Regions from separate parts of the Homo sapiens genome. Here region 1 is linked to region 2. The links are contacts of gene promoters, found by promoter capture Hi-C in blood cells and fetal thymus (Javierre and others, 2016). All regions are on one chromosome and are shown on one strand. Each heading gives the region's core, a stretch centred on a gene start or on the middle of the fragment in contact. The rest is flanking DNA. Distances are from core to core; before and after follow the strand shown.

Evidence for each region. Contacts are between HindIII fragments. The CHiCAGO score rates a contact against its expected background, and 5 or more counts as called.
Region 1: a contact is called between a fragment that was not itself captured here and the fragment with the promoter of RPS20 in region 2, in 1 of 17 cell types (total B cells). The highest score is 6.5, in total B cells.

What each region holds. Positions count from the first base shown.
Region 1 is chr8:55,795,027-55,798,178 of GRCh38, forward strand. It overlaps TGS1 (trimethylguanosine synthase 1), which reads left to right. Exons shown (of 13, transcript NM_024831.8): 7 at 952-1,126. Among named protein-coding and RNA genes, the nearest start is that of TGS1, 23 kb to the left of the region's middle. The HindIII fragment of the contact is 1,251 bases long and covers 1,211-2,461 here.
Region 2 is chr8:56,072,688-56,076,217 of GRCh38, forward strand. It overlaps RPS20 (ribosomal protein S20), which reads right to left and starts at 1,819. Exons shown (of 4, transcript NM_001023.4): 1 at 1,694-1,819; 2 at 1,373-1,472; 3 at 1,008-1,081; 4 at 367-585. The coding sequence starts at 1,696. The coding sequence ends at 403. It overlaps SNORD54 (small nucleolar RNA, C/D box 54), which reads right to left and starts at 1,214; the gene lies at 1,152-1,214. CERNA3 (competing endogenous lncRNA 3 for miR-645) reads left to right here and starts at 1,905. Exons shown (of 2, transcript NR_149110.1): 1 at 1,905-2,193; 2 at 2,320-2,587. The HindIII fragment of the contact is 15,741 bases long and covers 1,547-3,530 here.

The sequences.
Region 1 (3,152 bases), core at 586-3,085, 280 kb before region 2:
GTTTCAAGGCAATTATAGTTAATATAATCAATAGTTCATATAATCATTTAAGGCTAAGATCATAAAGTTTAGCATGTAAAAAGGTTTTTAAATTCCTGGCAGGATGTATTACTATGCACATGTAATTTTATTGAGGAATCCTTGGGTAGATTTTGATAGTATACACTTGTAGAAATCTATTTCTTTTCTTGCCTGAGACTTAACTACTTAACTACTCTTCTATTTAGAGCACCCAATTCTACTTAAAAGAGAAGGATAAAATATCCTGTTTATTAAAAGAAGTTTATAATATGGCTACAAAGTGAGACCTGATATTTAAACCCAGACTATTCTGGATTTTATAAATGCTAAAGTGTACGTGACACTCTTAAGTCCCTAACAGTTTGTCGGAGAGGGAGTTAATTGAGGCTTAATATAATCAAAGGAGGCTTCATAGCAGATACATATCTTTTAGGACTGGAAAATTTCAGATGGTTAAATCAGGCATTCTCTAATTATTTTGATACGAAGGGTTCGCTTCTTTTGTAAGCTCAGATTGATTTAGATAATTCAAATGTATCCAGAAATGTGTTAAAGAGCTTTGACATCACCCCACCTTGAAAATATTTATATATTTATATTTCCCTAACAAGGGGATAGGGTTTTCGTTTGTTTGTTTGTTTGTTTTACTATTTATTTATTGCAGTCTACTATGTAATTTCTACTTTCTCCTCTATATTAGGTATGTTGCACTTCCCAACTTTGGTGTTACACATTTGCTTTAGAATTAACATGAAAGTTAGACCATCAACTCTTCTGCAAGTTGAACTTGATTTTATCATTTTCATAATTTTAAAAAGGGAATTAAAATGGTGTAAAAATGAGTGAAAATGTTAGTTTCATCCTCTTTTCCTATAAGGAAATATAATCCTAGAATTTAAGTTGTGAATAACTTCTTTTGATCTGTCACAGATATGGTGGAATCCCAAATTTCAGTCATCGGCAGGTCAGGTATTTAGAGAAGAATGTGAAGCTTAAGTCTAAGTACCTAGACATGCGCAGACAAATAAAGATGAAAAACAAACACATCTTCTTTACCAAAGAGTCAGAAAAACCATTTTTCAAGAAAAGCAAAATTCTGAGTAAGGTATGTATAAATTTTGTTGCATATTTGTAGATAGAATCATGTTTTGTAAGTTTGACCTCTTAAAATTGTTGTATTCAAATAGGAAGCTTGTTTCTACCAGGTATCAAGGTACATAATTTTTTTTTTTTTTACTTGCTTCTTGAAGGCATATATTATGTAAACTAAATCTGAAAAAAGGCAAGTTGAGGTAGGGTGAAAAGGAAGTGTTTGAAAGCTACAAAGTACTAGTGTCTGAGATTATTTAAAAAACGCAGCCGTCAGGCGTGGTGGCTCACACCTGTAATCCCAGCAATTTGGGAGGCTGAGGCAGGTGGATCACCTGAGGTCGGGAGTACCAGACAAACCTGACCAACATGGAAAACCCTGTCTCTACTAAAAATACAAAATTAGCTGAGCATGGTGGCGCTTGCCTGAAATCCCAGCTACTTGGGAAGCTGAGGCAGGAGAATCGCCTGAACCCGGGAGGCGAAGGTTGCAGTGAGCCGAGATCGCGCCTTTTCACTTCAACTTGGGCAACAAGAGCAAAACTCCATCTCAAAAAAAAACACGCAACCTTGGCCGGGCATGGTGGCTTACACCTGTAATCCCAGCACTTAGGGAGGCTGAGGCGGATGGATCACCTGAGGTCAGGAGTTCGAGACCAGCCTGGCCAACATGGTGAAACCCCATCTCTACTAAAAATATAAAAATTAGCCAGGCATGATGGCGGGTGCCTGTAATCCCAGCTACTCGGGAGGCTGAGGCAGGAGAATTGCTTGAAATTTGGGAGTGGAGGTTGCAGTGAGCTGAGATTGTGCCATTGCACTCTAGGCTGGGAGACAGAGTAAGACTGTCTCAAAAAAAAAACACAACCTTGCCTATGTAGTAACAGACAAGAACAAGGAACAATTTCTCATCTGTTTTAGGCTAGGTAGGTGTATTAGTCTGTTTTCGGGCTGCTAATAAAGACATACCCAAGACTGGATAATTTTTGAAGGAAAGAGGTTTAATTGACTCACAGTTCTGCAGGGCTGGGGAGGCCTCAGAAAACTTAAAATTATGGTGGAAAGGGAAGCAAACAACTCCTTCTTCACATGGCAGCTAGAGAGAGAAATGAGTGCCCAGCAAAGGGGGAAGCACCTTATAAAACCATCAGATCTCATAAGAACTAACTCACCATCACAAGAAGAGAGTGGGAGAAACTGCCCCCATGATTCAACTATCTTTACCTGATTCCTCCCACAACACGTGGGGATTATGGGAACTATGATTCAAGATAAGATTTGGGTGGGGACACAGCCAAACCATACCAGTAGGATCCTAATAGTCCAAATTCTGATACAGCTTTATATTATAAGCTTTAATTCTGAGTTCTTCCAGAAGTGATCAGTCACAGTTTACACCTTGTAACAAGTTCACCCTGATAGCATGAAACACAGGCCAATTTATTGATTCACATTATTACCTGAAATATTCATATATTGGACTTTGCTATACCTGCCATCCAAGTACCTGGGAAACAAAAGTAGTTAGAAAATTGCTTGGTGTGATGAATTACCTTTCTATATTCTAAGGGGTAAAAAACACTTTCTAATGAGCAGAACCTTCATGTCAATCACATCTCCAGCAGCTCTTCAGGACAGTAGACCATAATCTTAGACTCCATGATGTCTCTGTCTCTGTTGTTCGTTTTTTAAGGCTAGTCAGATGACTCTTTTTCCCCTCAATACAGTGTCCTCCCTAACTTCAGCATACTTGTAAAATATGCTACATATATATAGCTGGTTTTATTTTGTATTACATTTCAGGTTGGTTGGCTGCTGGTGATGTTTTAATAAATATGTTCGTGGTGCTAGTTATATCTGAAACAGACTGCCTAGTATTAGTCCAGTCAGTGCCATAGGACTTTCCGTAATGTGTTGGATATAATAGCCCCTATGCATTCATCTATAGATGAGTGCAGAAACAGCTACTAAGCATTGCTGAGGAAAAAAGATATGTAACTGTTGTGTCTAACTTAGATACCTAATTTATTTATAGGCACATT
Region 2 (3,530 bases), core at 569-3,068:
TTAAGGACGTTAAACTTGGTTAATTTAAAAATATTAGTTACTAGCTTTTTAACACGTGCCTACTAGCGCACTAGGTTCTCAACCATGGGTGTGCATTACAAACGCCCCAGAAACCTTAACACCCCATACCAATCAGAATTTATCTAGAGTATGCCAAAGTTATAAACTGCCAGTGTCCAATAAAACCAGTCAGGTCTCACATATTATGTAGTTAACGGAATCCAGTTTTCAAATGACTCAAACGACAACGAAAACAGGATAGACCACTCTAAGATACCCATATATTCCACCTGAAAAGTGGAAGTCTCATAGTACACCTTTATATTCCTAAAATCTGCCAGTATTCTGAATAAAAACCAACAGAAGTTAACAACTGGTCATCAATTTATTAAAATAGTTGACTTAAGCATCTGCAATGGTGACTTCCACCTCAACTCCTGGCTCAATACTGATGGAAGTAATCTGCTTAACAATCTCAGAAGGACTGTGCAAGTCAATGAGTCGCTTGTGAATTCTCATCTGGAAACGATCCCACGTCTTAGAACCTTCACCACAAGGAGTTTTTCTTGTAGTGATTCTCAAAGTCTGTAACAAAAGACAAAGGAAACCAAGTGTTTATCGTTTTATACTTATCCCTAGAACATCTGGAAAATCATTACTTCTAATCATTTCATTAGTTTCCCTTTGGTATGATTCCAATTTACACTAATAGATTTTCAGGTACCATGGGTTGAAAATGCCAGGTCTGTTTTCACTGTGCTAGGACACCACCCTTAGAGCTTGCGCCTGTTAAGCACCAAAGCACACCAAGAACACAGCAACAATAATTCAACAATCATATCTAAACATTAGCTACTTACTAGGAACCGCAATCTACCACCGATTTCTATGTGCGTTTGTAGACAGCATCAGTGTTAACAATTTTGGCAGCCGAACTCCTTAAAGAACCTGAATTTATGCAACATCCGGAAGCAACTCCTACTTCCTGCCCCTCCGATTTACTTTACCTTGGTAGGCATTCGAACTGGTCCTTTCACTTTGAGATTCTTTTCTTTTGCGCCTCTTATCAAGTCAGCACACACTACAGGAAATAAAAGACCTCTCAGTATAATCGAAACAATTAAAATCGGCTTAAGGCCTTCACTTCTGCTGGCTCAGAATAGCGTATAAAATTATCACCGTTACTCAACACAATAGGTACCTCCTCATCGCCAGCTGTATGACAGTAAAAGCAATTTTAAGCCACGCTTTACTTTTTTAAGTAACTTGTCACTTTAGTTCTTGCAGTCCACCTTCTACACTAACATTAACGAGTAAAGCTCGTCGCTTTTCGCCCAATTCCCCCTCCCCCCCGCATAACGAATGCACTGACCCTTTTCCAAGGATTTTACGTTGCGGCTTGTTAGGGTGATTCGAATTCGGTGAATTGCCACCTCCGGCTCCACGGGTGTTTTTCCGGTATCCTTAAAAGCCTATTATTAGATACATGAAAAAGAACAATAAGCCAAAAATGGTCTGCCACTTCTGGAGAAAGGCAGCTTCCGGAAGCTTCCCGCGTTTCCCCACCATTTCAGGAGCGCCTTTCCGCCCCTACACGCCCCGGCATCTGCCCTCAGGAGCACGAACTCGAAACCGGGGTCCCCCCGGCGCCCGAGCCCTGCGTTGCGCCGCCCGCCGCCGACTGCCGCCTCACCATGGCTGTTGCGCGCGGGCTTCCTGACCGACTTGTTCCTCGGCGAGAGCGAACAGCGGTGAGTCAGGAGCAGGAGCGTGCGGACCAAAAATCCTCAGCCCTTACGACCGCGTCTTCCTCAAAAAGAAAGGGGTGGGACTTGAGCAACGCTTATATAGCACGCTTGCATCCGGGTCCCACACGCCCCGGAACAGGAAATATCCCGGGCCCTAGAGGCGGTCGCACAAGGGCGAGCTGGAGCACTAGTGGAGTTGGCGGGAAAGGCACGGCTGCGGGCGCCCCCTGTCCGCACGGAGGAGCCGAAGTCCCGCAGGGTGGGGTCCCCGCCTGCGCCGAGAGGGCCACCTGGTCGAGAGAACAGGCGACACGGAAACCTGAGAAACTCCTCTGTCTGGTGCACCTAACCCTCTTCCTCATAAAGTGCACACGAACTCTGGTTTTTCCGTTGCAAATTTTGCTTTCTACATAGACCATACCATTCGTTGCTCTCTGAGGATGAGGTAACTTCTCTGAGCTTAGCTGACATGAGCATTGGCAGAAATGCTTCTCGTAATCTGGATAACTTACGTTAGAATTAGTAAGCAGTTATTTTTCATAGCCTGAAACGTCCTGTTGTGATATTTCAGCTCCTGGCTTCCCAGTCCAGCAGAAGTATCTACATCTATTTCTGGAAAGGACCTGAACTTGGCTTCTCGTCCTTCTGGAAAGTGAGGCGAAAATGCCAGGCTGCGCAGCTATCCTGAGGCCCGGCCTGGAACCTGGCTAGCCACCCAGTCCTGATACCTCATCTCCTTTCTGTTGGATAAAGTCATTGGATAAGATCCCCCAGGGTCTTCTTAATACTGAACATCTGTTCATAATCACATAAGTGACCAAGTATAGTGGAAAACCCGAATGGTCAACTGAGCTGAGCAGTGGGAGAGAGCGCAGGGTGAGCTCACCTACACCTGAGCAAGAAGCCGGGGCTAAATACGTGGAAATCACTGAGATGGATTTTGATACAGGGCAGAAAGAAGAGTAAAATCATCTCATATTACTTTCCACCTGAAGCTCTGAGCCGAAAGAGTTATTTGCTCAAACACTCTGAAATGGGGAGGGACAGAGCTCTGACCCCTCCGTCCAGGCCTGTTTGTTGTTTTTTTTTTTTGTTTGTTTTGTTTTTTTTTTTTTGTGAGACGGAGTTTCATTCTTGTTGCCCAGGCTGGAGTGCCATGGCGCGATCTCGGCTCACCGCAAACTCCGCCTCCTGGGTTCAAGCGATTCTCCTGCCTCAGCCTCCGGAGTAGCTGGGATTACAGGCATGCGCCACCATGCCCGGCTAATTTTTTTTTTTTTTTTTTTTTTTTTAGTAGAGACGGGGTTTCTCCATGTTGATCATGCTGGTCTCAAACTCCAGATCTCAGGCCCGCCTCGGCCTCCCAAAGTGCTGGGATTACAGGCGTGAGCCACCGCGCTCGCCCCGTCAGGACTCTTTCTTGAGGTTTTGTCTTCTGTTCCTTGGTAGGAAATTATGTTTGAAACTTTAATCAAATAATAGCATTGTCTTATTTGGTGATAATTGGAACATAACTAATAACTGGGTTTCTTTGGCTCACGATACGTATGAGGTTTTTTGCTGCCATTTTAACAATTATTTTAAATTTTCAAATTTGGATGTTTTCCAGTTCAGTTTTTTGGGTTTTTTGTTTGTTTGTTTTTTGAGATGGAGTCTCGCTCTGTCGCCGAGGCTGGATGCAGTGGCACGATTTTGGCTCCCCGCAACCTCCACCTCCTGGGTTCAAGCAATTCTCCTGCCTCAGCCTCCCGAGTAGCTGGGACCACAGGCACGTGGCACCAC